Regions from separate parts of the Homo sapiens genome. Here region 2 is linked to region 1. The links are contacts of gene promoters, found by promoter capture Hi-C in blood cells and fetal thymus (Javierre and others, 2016). All regions are on one chromosome and are shown on one strand. The core of a region is centred on a gene start or on the middle of the fragment in contact, and the rest is flanking DNA. Distances in the headings are between cores, read along the strand shown.

What was found. Contacts are between HindIII fragments. The CHiCAGO score rates a contact against its expected background, and 5 or more counts as called.
Region 2: a fragment that was not itself captured here is called in contact with the fragment with the promoter of KCNK5 in region 1 in 3 of 17 cell types (naive CD4 T cells, naive CD8 T cells and fetal thymus); the score reaches 6.5 in naive CD4 T cells.

What each region holds. Positions count from the first base shown.
Region 1 is chr6:39,225,169-39,232,367 of GRCh38, reverse strand. KCNK5 (potassium two pore domain channel subfamily K member 5) reads left to right here and starts at 2,893. Exons shown (of 5, transcript NM_003740.4): 1 at 2,893-3,442. The coding sequence starts at 3,257. RefSeq lists enhancers at 1,588-2,315, 6,401-6,695 and silencers at 2,603-2,952, 3,053-3,132, 4,146-4,215. The HindIII fragment of the contact is 7,595 bases long and covers 1-4,886 here.
Region 2 is chr6:38,865,392-38,872,590 of GRCh38, reverse strand. It overlaps DNAH8 (dynein axonemal heavy chain 8), which reads right to left. Exons shown (of 93, transcript NM_001206927.2): 46 at 5,914-6,000; 47 at 5,715-5,822; 48 at 4,395-4,529; 49 at 2,029-2,190; 50 at 1-55. Among named protein-coding and RNA genes, the nearest start is that of DNAH8-AS1, 84 kb to the left of the region's middle. The HindIII fragment of the contact is 6,485 bases long and covers 712-7,196 here.

The DNA.
Region 1 (7,199 bases), core at 1,644-4,143:
CCTGTAGGAAAATATATATCTCACATCACCTCATTCCCATTTACCCACTTTTCCCTTTTCCAATCTTAAGGCTCGTGTTGTCTAAATATTCGATAGTTTCAGCACAGTTTACATTTTATAAAAGCCCCCACTGGCTGCTGTGCAGAGAGCAGGTGTGTGCCCCTGATCTACAGAAGGTCAAGTTGATCCAACTATCTGGCTGGGGCAGGGGAGTTGGAGAGGGGAGTGGGGAGATGGGGAGGGGAGGGGAAGTTGGGGGAGGGGAAGCACATTCAACTGGGATGGAGACAAAGGAGAGAGGCAGGAGGAGGGAGAATGAAGAGCTGGGGAAGGAGCTTTGGAAAAATACAGGAAAGCAAAGGATGCGGCGACAGAAGGAGAGGATGAGGAGTCAGTCAGCACCACATGGAGAGCAAGAAGGAAGAAGGGGACAGGAAATGCAGAAACAGAGTGGAAGGACAAAGAAACTACAACATACAGAGGCCTCGAATAAAAATCAATTCATCTCAAAGTGTTCAGCATTTTCATGAGGCTGTGAGACCGAAATAGGAAGAGGCCCTTTATTTTCTTAGGAAGAGAACACAGACCGGAGGTGGGAGAGGAATGGTAGGGAATTTTCCAAACAAAGAGAGGGCCTGTGGCCTCTCAAACTGCCCCCACCCCATGCTCACTGAAGCGTTCACACTGCAGCCCTGAACTCTTCACAAACAGGGTGAACTCCATCCAGAGAGGGGGGATCCGGAACCCATGCTTGGTTTCCATCCCAGCTGGAGGGCTGGAGAATGAGACTGCAGAGCTAGGGTTCAGGCCACAGCCTGGGGGACAGGGTAGGCAGGAGGTCAGCAAGGCTTAGAGAAGATGGATATGTTGGGTTGGGTGAGAGGCCTGGTGCTGGGAGTGGGTTGTCTACAGAGAAGCACCCCCAGGGCCTTGTCCAGGATGATCCTTGGCCAGGGGGGTCCTGAGGGGACTGGCACTGCACACCTCAGGGATGCAGTATCAGGAAATCTGGGGCTCCCCAGCTTCCTGCTCTGGTCTTCTTCTCTGGACACGCTCATGTTGCCATAAGGAGAGACAGAAACATCAGCAAAATCAGATCAATGCTTCCAACTGTATCCCTAACCCCTCCATTCCAGCCAGATTTGGAGATAGTACAGATACCCCCCTCCCCAAGTAAAGTGTCTCTTGACACCTTGGGGTTCAGGCCACAGCCTGGGTACAGGGTGGGTAGGAGGTGAGAAATGACTCCCCTTCTTCTCGATGGAAAGAAAAGGCCTTGGCCAGGGGACAGTGCTCAGGGACTCTGGCCACTCCAGTACCTGCCCCTACAGAGGCCAGAGAAGGGCAGGGCCAGCCCCTGGTACAGAGCACTGAAAGGAGGTTCCCCCTCCAACTTCTGACTGGTGCTGGTTGAAAGACTGAACAAACTAACCCACTGAGCTTTTTTCCTCACTGCAAAGTGGGTCGAATGACAGGGCCTGCTTATGATGCATGGAAGGGATTCAGTACTTCCTGGGGTTTACAAGAGCTCAGAGAATGGCAGCAAGGCGAGTTAGAAACATCCTGGGCACCTGTTTTTAACAAATTCATTCACTCCTTCATTGCACACATGGTTATTGAGTGTCTGCTATGTATGTAACAAGCACTGTGGATACATCATTACACAAGACAGATTCTCCATCTCCCCAGCAGACATTTCCGTGTGTGTGTGTGTGTGTGTGTGTGTGTGTGTGTGTCTGTGTGTGTGTGGCGGGGAGAGGGCACAATACAGAGTAAACAATAAATAAAGTTATATAATATAGCAGAGGGAATTTAGTACTAGGAAGGACATAAAGCCAACGAGGGAGATAAGGTGGCGGGGGTGGAATTTTAAATCAGCTGGAGCATATGTATGAAAGTGGGCCGGGCGCGGTGGCTCACGCCTGTAATCCCAGCACTTTGGGAGGCTGAGGCGGGCGGATCACCTGAGGTCAGGAATTGAGACCAGCCTGGCCAACACGGTGAAACCCCGTCTCTACTAAAAATACAAAAATTAGCTGGGCGTGATGGCGTGCGCCTGTAGTCCCAGCTTCTTGAGAGGCTGAGGCAGAAGAACTGCTTGAACTCGGGAGGCGGGGGTTGCAGTGAGCCGAGATAGTGCCACTGCACTCCAGCCTGGCGACAGAGTGAGACTCCGTCTGAAAGAAAAGAGGAAAGGAGAGGAAAGGAGAAGAGAAAAGAAAAGAGAAAAGAAAAAAAGAAAAGAGGCCAAGTGTTTCCCGTAGAGATACTGTGTATTGGGGGGGCGCACAGGGGTGCCACGAATTGAGCTGCCCACTCCTTCCAGATGCAGGGTTCTCACCCGGGTAGGTGAGAACGGGGTGAGGGGGAGGAATCACGCGTGGGTGGCTGGATTAGTTCCTGATGTCCTCTGATTCCCTACAGCTTCTTCAGCCCCGTTCTAACCCCCTTCCTCAGGCTTACAAGAAAGTGTGTGGAAGAGAGACACGGAGAGACTGAGCATTAGACTTTTTTGGAAGAAACATCAGTAAATGAAAATGGAATTACAATAAAAATAACAAAAGCAATAAACTCCTGACCTCAGTCACAATCATTTTAGTTAACACGCCAGTCCTAATAACAAACACGAGTCCCTGAGACCGCAACCCCTCGGGCACCGCAGGGCGTGCAGGTCTGGGCGGGCGGCGCAGCCTCCCCTGGCGGCTGACCCTGGGAGCGCGGGGAGCGCCAAGCCTCTTCTAGCGCTCACCTCGCGCTCACTCCTGCGCTCGCCGGGCTGCTTGTGCGGGGAAGGGGCGGGGCCCGCCTGGGCTCCTCCCCGGTCGGAGCCCGGAGCAAGGGGGCAGAGCGCGCCGGGCGCTGGTTAAAGAGGCGTGCGGAGGCGGGCGCGGCGCATACTGCTAGTGGCGCGCGGAGGAGCGACGCGTGGAGAAGCGGCCCACGTGTCTGCCCAGAGTCAAGTCCTGTGTTCTTCCCGCTCCTTACGCATCCGCGGTCCAGGGCGCCCTTTCAGCCCCGCTGGTGTTCGCCCACCCCGGGCCGCGTGAGTGGGGCCCCACGCAGCTCCCCGCACTCCGTGGGCCAACTTGGCCAAGCAACTCTGTCCGGGGAGCGGTGCTTGCGGGGGGTGAGTACCGGGCACTGCGCATGCGGAGCTCCAAATTCAAACAGCTGTTTTCAGAGGCTGGAGGGCGGGCGGACTGGTAGCAGCTGGGGCTAGGAGAGGCTTTCTCTAGGAGGCGGCCGCTCGGGAGCCATGGTGGACCGGGGCCCTCTGCTCACCTCGGCCATCATCTTCTACCTGGCCATCGGGGCGGCGATCTTCGAAGTGCTGGAGGAGCCACACTGGAAGGAGGCCAAGAAAAACTACTACACACAGAAGCTGCATCTGCTCAAGGAGTTCCCGTGCCTGGGTCAGGAGGGCCTGGACAAGATCCTAGAGGTCAGTCGCCGCCTGTACCCCCATATACATCTGAAGCTGGCTTGAGCTTTAGGGGGCGCTGAAAGGAAGACCCCTTCACAGCTTTGGGTGACCCTCAGTCCCTGTGGAAGGTCCAGGGGGTGATGAGAGAGCGTGTCTCATCATGGGTCAGGCTTCGAGGATCTGTCGCTCACCCGAGGGACACAGGGGTCCCCCAGGCGCGGAGACTCTTTGGAACTTAGTTTGGCCGGAGACAAATTGGAGTTGATTCCCGGGTGAACTAGGCTCCACGGTGTTTCAGTGTGGGTGTGACGGTACCTCCCTCCTTGGGAAGAGGCTGTGGGACGGATAAAGGCGTTTATCTTTCCCTGGAGACGCTCCCGGAGTCTGGGAGCCAAGCCTGGTGCCATCCCCTCGTGTCTCCACCTCCCCGCTCCAGGGCCAGTGCCACGCCTGCCAGGCTTTTCTTAAGGAACGTGAACCCGGCAGAGTGGCGGGAGGGTCCCTCAGCCCGAGCCTGGGCAAAATCTTCCGCCCCCAGCAGAGTTCCGGAGAGGAGCTGGAGGCTCTGTGGGGCCCGAACCCACGGGATGAGGGCTGGTGCCTGGAATGCTGGGGACGCGCTCAGGCTTCCGGGAAGGCTTATCTCGCGGAGACATCCTTCAAGGGCTTGGAGTAAAACTTTGTGAAAGTAGCAGGTTGCACAAACGAATAATACCCGCGTAGTCCCTTTATGATGGGGGAGGAGAGTGTGTGCGGAATTGGGGTGGGTGGGGGACTTCCCTCCGTGCTGACATTGGGAACCGCTTATTTTCTGGTGCACAGCCCGATGGGTGGCATTGACCTCACTTTGGATAAACGGGCTGCCTATCCTGGCTGAGACCTTGGGGCCCATTTGGGGACCGAGGCCCTCTACCCCAGTTTCTCGAGGGCTCAGCTTCAACCATCAACTCTTCTTGGCCTGCTCCCCCAGTGGAATGACCAGGACCTGGGTGAAAGTTCTAGATTGCAGCAGGTAGGGAGTAGGGGTAGATTGTCCAGGGTGTTACCTTGCTCTCAGGGTGAAAGATGCCAGAAAGGAGGTCTGATGAGAAGCAACGTTTAGTCTACAGCAGCACCTCAATACTTTATGCCTATCTAGTCGTCGCTCATTTTCCAGCCTCCGTTTCCCCATGTGAGAAACGGGAATGAGCCCATCCTCATTCCTTATTTCTGCCACGGACTGTTAGGTTGGAAGCATTTGGAAAACATCAAAATCTTGTCCCCAGATTGATGGACATCACACAGATAAGCATATACGTATTTGCTGGCAGCCGTGTGTGGGGAGACTTGTCCTCCAAGGGGTCCTGTAGAAGGGGAGGTTTAGTCTAGCAGGCTTAGTGTTGGATTTTAGTGGAGAGTCTCTTGCCCTGTAGCAGTTTCCCGGGTAGAGGCAGATGGGAGGTGATGGTGGGGAGGATAAGCTTCAGTAGATGGTTGGTTGGTTTACCTCCTAACAGCAAGAGTCCTGGCATGAAGAGTCTACATGGCTTCCTTCTGATGGGCGTCTACCCTGGGGGGTGTGTTGTGGGGAGGGGGTTGCTTTATGATTTCCCTTGAGGAAACAATTCCTCTAGAGAACAAGTTTTTGTTTAGTTTGTTCCAGGGCTTTGTTTAGAGGGGGAAGAGGGCAGGCAAGGATGATAAAGCCTTGAGCTGCCCTCGAAGTGTTTCCCTCTAAGCTGTTGCTCCAACACTGCAGGGGAAGGAAGGAAAGAATTCAAGGCTAAATGTGGGAAAATAAACTTCAAAACACAAGGCAAAGGGAAAGGCTGGCGGGGCATACGGCGGGGGGGGCGGGGTCCAGGGGTTAGGCAGCCGGGTGCAGCTGGTGGTCATAGCTTTGGAGGCTAGACGGCTTCTTAAGGTATTTGAACAAACAAAATGCCTCTTATTTAGCAGTCCTGTTAAATCTGTCAACATTTACCCCCCTACCAAAAAAAAGTAATGGGCAGGTAATTTTTAGAAAAAGGACTTGGGCATCAAGCCAGTCTGCTTTGGAGGCTATTATAGATAAGTTCTTGAACAAGGACAGCCCTGTCCTCATCCCCGGCCAAAGAAACTCCCAAACCAACCCCAACTGGGCGAGTCCCTTCCCGTCATAGGAAAAACCCCAAGAAATGAAAATGGACAAGTAGAAGCATTTGCTGACATCAGTTTTAATCTGCAGAAATCTGCCTTGCTCTGCTTTCTTGTGACTTGGGGTACTGCCTCAGGCCTCAGGATATTGGTTTAAGGAAAAATGAAAACTCAAAAATCTTCTTTCCCATCTGGCTGCTTGGGCATTTTCCACCTGACGCTCTGTGTTTTAGCTGGTTCTGAATCACCTTGGAATCATGAAGGAGCCCCTAGCTAGGAATTCCTGGGGTACAACCAGGGGTGGGACAAAGATTGTTGGAAGAGATGGGGTGCAGTCTGAGTTGGGGTTTCTCTTACCCTGAAAGTTGTGTGTGCTCTTTCAAATGTGTGAGAAAGGGAGTTAAGTCAACTTTCTTTAGAAATACCCCCCGAATTGTCAGATACTTCCTTCCCTCCGCTGTGGTTGAAGTGAGGTGCAGGCTGACTTTCAAGTGCTCAGTGACCCGCCAGCCTGGGACCACGTGATCGTCCTCTTTCCTGTCTTCAGAACCATCTTGAACCCTTGCTCTCAAGCAAGATCTTTGGTGACTCATTCTCCCAACCTCTTCCTAAATTGCAGACTCACACAAGGGAAGTTAACATTTACAGCACACCTACTCTGTGTTGGGCATTGTGGGTGCTATTATCCTCATTTTATGAGAGAGGGCACAGGCTGGTTTTGCCATCTGGCTCGGCCATTTACCCATCAAGCCATGTAACTTAACTTTGCCTTCCTTTCCTCATCTGCAAAATGAGTGTTTGGTGAGGCTCCAATAGAGTAGAAACATTAGGCAAGATGTCTATAAAAAGTGAACAGGTCTCCTGACCTTAGCATTTATTGAGGAAGGCAGCTTTACCTACCTGCCTTATTTCAGGTACTCTTTACAGTATGTATTCAAGTAAGCAAGCTGAAGCCCAGAGAAGATAGAATGGCCACAGGGACACCACAGGAGGCACAGCCTATGGGGCGGGACGGGGAGGGGCAATGACCAGGCAGTCTGCCCCAGGAGCTTGCACCTCCCTCTTGGGCCTGTGAAGATTGTTGCTCTGTAACTGAGCTTAGGAAATTGGTTCAGCTGGACCCTGATCTGCTGGAAAATTCTATTTTCTATTTCCCCTAGCACAGGTAATGGCATACAGGCGTCTCCTGTGTTGTTGCCTGGCTGACCCAGCACCTCTGTTACTGAAGTAATACATCAGTCCACCCCTCTGCGCTTCTCATTTTGGAAGTCCCCAACCCCTGTCCCACCAAAAACAGTGGGGGTGTGATTGAAGGGGAGGAAGGACAGCCCTTCTCAACCTTCTGCCTCTGGTGGGCAGTGATCAGAAACAGGAAGGATTTGAGAGCCCACCGTGCACCAGACCACTTTGAATAAGCACTTTATATACATTCTTATTTTAATTTAATCTTGCAGGCCACCTCATAAATGAGGAAAATTAGGGGAAAAGCCAGTGTAACTTGTCTGGGATCACATAGAGCGGAGTCAGTTTTCACATCTAAGTTTCATGTTTCAAAGTACATGGAAATTAGCAAGCATTTATTAAGTATCCACCATGTGCCAGACACTGGGCAAGACTCTCAGGATACAAAGAATTAGGCTACACTCCGAGCTGCTGGAGA
Region 2 (7,199 bases), core at 2,705-5,204, 360 kb after region 1:
AACCACTGGGCCCAAGAGTCATCAAGCCATGCCGTACCAAAGACGTCTCATATAACTACACAATTAACCAGTAAATTAAAATATGTAATTTATGAGTCTCTTGCTGACATTCATAGTAGCTACTTGAAGATTAAAGGCTTTAATAAGCTCTTCATTAACGTAACTAGTTCACTATTTTTAAGTTGTAAAAAATGTTGTTTTACTAGATGTGCATAGCAAATGAGCACCACGTTATAAAACGATATGTGCTAAAGTAATAACAATGTGGAGCTTGAATTACATTTTGGAAATAATTAACTCAGCATCTAGTTTTTGCTTCTTGCGTGATGATTCCCTGTGATTTTGGCTTGTTGGTCTATAACCAGCAGTTGTTCCATGCGCAAACTTTCTCGGCATCCAATGTGATGATATCGCCCCTTAGTGGTGGAAAGCAGCAACGCAGAGCATCACAGTGAAGATCCGTTTCAAAGGGGCCTTCTAATTCCCCAGAAGTACATCATGAATGAGGATTCCTGTGCAAGTGATTTATTCAGGTAGTGCTCCCAGGAGAAACCAGTAAGAGAAGAGGAAAGCAGGACAGGAATGGGAAGAAGCCAAGCAAGGTGTGATTGAGGACAAAGCCCTGTAGAGGACAGACTTGAGCCTGATCCCTCGGGAGACTGGAGTGTAACTTACACCTCAAAGATTGCTCCACCTGGAACCAGGCAAGCTTGACTTTCCTACTCCATCAACTCTTAGAGACGTTTGTTTGGGGGTGGATGGGAAATAAACTCCCGTGCAGCACCTACTCTTTGTGCCTGCCAACAAAATGGCTCCAGGCCTCCTTTTGCTATTAGAAGCGAAAACACACAGAAGCTGGGCAGGGGCACGTGGAAATGGTACAAGAGATTCGAGGAGACATGCTAGGATCATGGACAGCCGCTGCTATAACATCCCGTCTGCAGTTTTCTCATTAAAAAAATTAAGAAGTCAAAGGTCTGACAGCTGATCAGAGGGAGAGTGAGTTATTCTCCTAACATTTTGGACAGAAATGTATTACCATTGTAAACTATAGTTTAAAAGCAACAGAGGCACTGTTCCTGACATGTTCAAGAGCAATGTTATTGACATCAACAAAGAACCCAAAATTCTAGTCGCCACCCATTGAGATGGCAAGAATTTTAAAACTCAGTATACTGTATGCATATCATATATAAAATCATGTTTTCCCAGAAATTTTTTAAACTCTTAAAATGGTTTCCAGTACATGAATGATGAAAAAGACTTTTCCCCCATGCACATATTTCTTTGTAAGATTTGGATGTATCTCAGATACTTGCACATCTTATAATCTGGCAAGAACAGTAAGTTAAAATAAGAATCGTTATATTAATATTTCAAATGCAGTTTTCAACAATGTCCACAATTTCAGCTCCTTAATTTTCCAAAAGCTCTGGAAAATATTCCCAAAGCATCAAGCTCATAGAGATTTAATCCTGTGTCTCTGCTACAAGTTCTTGATTCTACTGGTAATCCAATCAAGTGGTTAGATGGTTGTCACAAGGATGAAATGTGATGAACAGAAAGACACCAACATATGCAGTCAAAAGATTCAGGTTTTAGTGTAGGTGAAGGATATAACATGTCCACACACAAAGCAGGAGCAAAATAGCACTCCCAGATTCCTCAGGCTCTGCACTCCACTGAGGCACCCAGCTGCAGCCAGTACTATCAGATTGGCACAAGAAGACATCTGCGTTGTTCCGTTCCCCTAGAGTTTTTATAACCTACTATTTCCGCCCAACATTGTCACCAGGTATAAGTAAAAACTGCAGTAAATTACTGCTTGATTACTGTGAGGCAGGGTAAATCCATACTATCTTCCTAGGACCACCACATCCTTCCAAGTATTCTTTTTGCAATGATGTATATATGATGTTTTCATTTAACATTTACATCAAGTAAGACTAACTATGAGTTTTTCTATTCAGACAGGAATGTTTAACACATACTTATCATTATACTAATAATAGATTAAAATGTCTTTACCTGCACGAGTTTCAGGTTCCAGGGTGGATGGTTAATCAAACCCTCTATCTGAACCTGATGGGCTACTGCGTTTTGCAGTTCTGCATAAGTATTACTATCCAGTTGCAGTCCTGGGAACAGGTCATTGATTAAGCTGAGGAACAGGGGTTCATCTTCATCAACCTAAGGTGGCATAGTTTAAAATAAATTTACTCATTCAGTCAACAAACATTTATCAGCTAGCTGGGATGTGCATAGTACTTATCACTTCATCCCCAGAGAACCATTTATTACTCTCCTAATCAGGCTTGTATTCTCTAGTACTTTCTCCAGAATATCACTGATATGGTTTGGCTGTGTCCCTACCCAAATCTCATCTGGAATCGTAGCTCCCATAACTCCCACGTGTCGTGGGAGGGACCCAGTGAGAGGTAATTGTATCATGGGGGCAAGTCTTTCCCTGCTGTTCTTATGATAGTGAATAAGTCTCACAAGATCTGATGGTTTTGTAAACGGGAGTTCCCTTGCACATGCTCTCTTGCCTGCCGCCATGTAAAGACGTGACTTTGCTCCTCATTCACCTCCCAGCATGATTGTGAGGCCTCCCCAGCCATGTGGAACTGTGAGTTCATCAAACCTCTTTCCTTTATAAATTGTCTTTATTAACAGTGTGAGAACAGACTAATACAATCACCACTGAATCTATATTGTACCCAAAGTTCGTTAGCATTCAATGTGTTCTACAATCCTGCCCCAGTCTACTGCTCCAAAGTACGACCTCATTACTTTATCACATGAATCTTTGCTTCTCACAGTGGCATTTGCATTAACCTTAAAAATGATAATTTGTAGTCCCAACCCCATGAAATTAAAGAACGGATATTTTATTTAAATTGGGGAAATAGCCATAACCCTGCATGACTTCATCCAACAATGGCTGCAAAAGTCCATCAGGGCAGTGTTCTGAGCCTTTCTTATAAGCAGTAGGTTTGAGTACACTGACTCCAATCCTTGCTTGCAATGTCTTTAATGCATAGATTGCCCTGTTCCCAACATCTGACCCCTTATGATTTCTCTTTATTCTCTAGGGCTTTGCTGATGCTTTCTTGAGTACTTGTCTAGGAATTTCCAAAATACCATTATCTAAGGGAGGCTTAGACTGCACTCCAGCCTGGGTGACTTAGGGAGTCTAAGCCTCCATTACAGTCCATGTTGGTCATACAGGCAGTGAGGTATACTGGCAGGAGCAGTGGATTTGGCACCAGAAAATCTTATAAATTTTTGTCCCCTCTTCTCAGCTGATGGTGATTATGGGGGAATCCTGCAACCTCTAGTCTCCATTCCCCAATAAGTGAAGTGACAATAAACAAGCTAGCCATCCAGACCCCACAGAGTTGCTGTGAGGCTCAAATAAGACGATACACCTGAAAAGACTTTGTAACACTAATGAACTCCACAGATGTTAGTTTTTGTAACTAGAATGTAGCTTCCTGAACCACTTCTTCTTCAACTTTGTACACCCATGGCATGGGCACAATATGTGGCATGTAGAAATCCTTATATGTCACATGAACCTGTCCATCAGCTATTCAAAACAACCTGGCTGGGCTGGGCTGGGCTTGGTGGCTTATGCCTGTAATCCCAGCACTTTGGGAGGCTGAGGTGGGGTGGATCACTTGAGTCCAGGAGTTTGAGACCAGCCTGGGTGACATGGCAAAACCCTATCTCTACAAAACAGTACAAAAATTAGCCAGGCATGGTGGTGTGTGCCAGTAGTCCCAGCTACTCAGGAGGCTGGGGCAGGGAAATAGCTTGAGCCTGGAATGAGGAGGTTGCAGTGAGCCAAGATTGCACCACTGCACTCCAGCCTGGGTGACTGAGAGTCTGTTTCAAAGAAAAAAAAAAAAATCAGGCTGTAACCATGACAAGCATGAAAGCAGCATGCTCTCCACAGCAAATTTTCAATGTGTTTTTGGAAAATAGAAATGATGTTTATGTTTTGGGAGAGATATATCTGAGATAAGCTAGTCACATACAGAGAAAGCAAAAAGTTCTCATGGTTCCCTGTGAATCCAGATTCTTATGCTGAGAATTTGTGTCACTTTGTGAATAATGGTAGACAACTAGGTTGAGTCTTGGAGCTGAAGCCCACTGATGACCTGTTTCACTGCACACAGCTGATAAAAGGAGGCACTTATAGTCCATGTTGGTCACACAGGTCATGGGGTCTTTTGCTTTCTTCTGGAAGCACAGTGGTAGCTTTGCACACTTATTATCCCTGTAATTATGGGTGCTCACAGCTCAACATCAGCCTACCTCTACTTGTCCACCAAATAGAAAGAAACAATATTAAAATTGTGGAAAAGAAGAGAATTCAGAGAAGATACCAGTTTGGAAAGGTTCATATCTCTTAGTCCTCTCATGACAATGCTTAATTCACTATCTTCTGGTCTGGCTCTTTTTTGAGATCCAAGAGTCCTCAATACAGACAGAATATTTCTCAATCCAAAGTCATAATGAACCTGAGATGGGAGAAGAGGGCAAAAAGATGGTTTAATTGAAAAACTAAACATAGACTCACGGCTCACTCTATGCATATAGGTCGATTCTGATACTTATATGGGATAGTTTTGGGGTGACTAAGCCACAAAGGTTTATTAGCTCAACTTCCTGCCTTTCCTTTGACTGAAATATGATCATTCCATGGGAAAATCCAAGCTGCAAGATCAAGTAAGTATTCACACCTTAAATATCTTTTGAGAATAATATAGTCTGATACAGTCTGAGCAACAAACAATAGTTTCTTTTTTGTTTTTTTTTTTTTTTTTTTTGAGATGGAGTCTCACTCTGTCATCCAGGCTGAAGTGCAGTGGCGGGACCTCGGCTCACTGCAACCACCACCTCCCGGGTTCAAGCAATTCTCCTGCCTCAGCCTCCCCAGTAGCTGGGATTATAGGCGCGTGCCACCACGCCTGGCTAATTTTTTTTTTTTTTTGTATTTTTAGTAGAGACAGGGTTTCACCATGTTAGCCAGGATGGTCTCGATCTCCCGACCTCATGATCCACTCGCCTCGGCCTCCCAGAATGCTGGGATTACAGACGTGAGCCACGGCACCCGGCCCAAACAATAGATTTTTAAATGCATAACCAAGAGGTTACATACTATGTGATTCCGTTTACATAACATTCTTGCAATAAAATTCTAGACATGGAGAAAAGGTTAATGGGTTAGGGATTTGGGAGAGAGGTGGGTGTGGCTATAAAGTAGCATGAGGGAACCTTGTGGTGATGGAACAGAGCCGTATCTTACATATTCCATACAACTACACACACACACACACACACACACACATATACACACACCAGTGCATGTATAACTGATGAAACCTTAAACTCTGTGGACTGCTTCAGTGTCCATTTCCAGTTTTGTTATTGCGCTACAGTTACAAGATGTCAACCACCAGGCAAGGCAGGGTGAAGGGTACATGCCTCCCTGTACATTCCTTTGCAACTTCCTGTGAATCTACAATTATTTCAAAATAAAAGGGTCTTAAAAATACACAACCAATAGGTAAAATTAATTCTAAAAGCATTTTAGAAAAGAGTCAATGAGATTTTAACTCACTGATGAGTATTTATCAAGGGAAAATTACAAAGCAAAAAAACCAAATACTATTGCTAGGAGGAAAGCAGATCTATAAAGTTACCTGTTTAGTAAGTTGCTCTTCACAGAGTTTGTAAAGAACGTAAAATTTTTGAGCCAAGATAACATTTTCAAGAAAACCACAGCTTGCAAGTTTAACTCTCATAATGATCTGAAAATTAATATAGTGAGTTTTTTTCAACTTTAGTGAAAAACAAGTAAAGAACATAAAGCACATTATGCTTTTAAATCCTAGTGCATACCTGTCTATCAGGAACCATCATAGCAACAGTTCTAAACTGGATTTTTAGGTTTTCTGGTAGTTCCTGGCGCCCAGCATATCCAGGGTTCTAAAAGTTAAAATATGTTTAATTTTTAATTGCTAAAACAATTTTCATTTCTGAATACAAATATATTTCAAACCCCTAATTCAGATTTTAAGATGGTATTGAAAATATTAGATTCATAAAATACTCTTGTTTTCTCAAAACAATATGTATTAGACCATGTATATTAATATTTATATGCCCTTTTATATATTTCCATTTTCATGATATTAATAAAGTCACACACAATTTTGTGTGGCAAAATTGTCTACTGACTTAAAAAATAGAAAATTGTGTCTGCTGGCTTAAAAATAGAAAAGAACGTGAAATAATACAAGAGAAAACTGAATAGATACCTGATAATTATGGTCTAAAGTATGTTATTGAAAGAAGAAAAAAACTAAGGATTTTATACTGATGAGCTTCCTTGGGCATTTTTTTTATTCCATCTCTTCAATTATTCTTTGCAGCCACAGTTACAGAGCTCTTTGGCTAACAAAAACCCATGGAAGTGAGGAGAAATAAAGATGGCAGTGAGGGGAAATAAAGAAGGGAATGATGGGAAAAACACTGAAATGGACAAAAGTAGAGACAGACAGGAAATGAAGTCCTCCTAAGAAGCAACAGGTTGAACAGAGGTCAGACCCAAGTCTCAAAGGAAGGTTGGAGATTCAAAGACAAGTAAGGCCAACAGGAATGAGTTATTTTAGGCAAGTTTGTTAAAAACCTTCAGTCCCTGACCATTTACTGGGCACTGTCAATAGGCCAGGTACCTTGCTAGGGGCTGGAAATACAGAAATTGAGGCTGCCTCTCAATACTCCTCTTAACCTTCCTGAGCCACAGGAGCCCACCTGCAAGCTGGGTACAGCAACACCTAGATTAAAAACTACATTTCCCAGCCTGCCTTGCAGCTGCTGTGATTATATTCTACACTGCGAGATGCAAAGGGGCACACTGTACTAAATATCCTTGATGTTTTTTTGAAGAGAGTTGACTCAGTCAATTGGCTGCAACACAATAGAGATGCTTTCTGTAGCATCTTGGTTCATAAGGTGACCTTGAAGATGGAATTCATGATGGAGTAGAACCATAAAAGGATCTTAAGAGAATCCTTACATGTTAAACTACAATTTTTTTTAGGTTTCAGTTACTCACAGCTTAATGCAATATCTAATTGCTATTTCCAATATTATTCTTAATCCAGGGAGCATGTTAAGCTTTT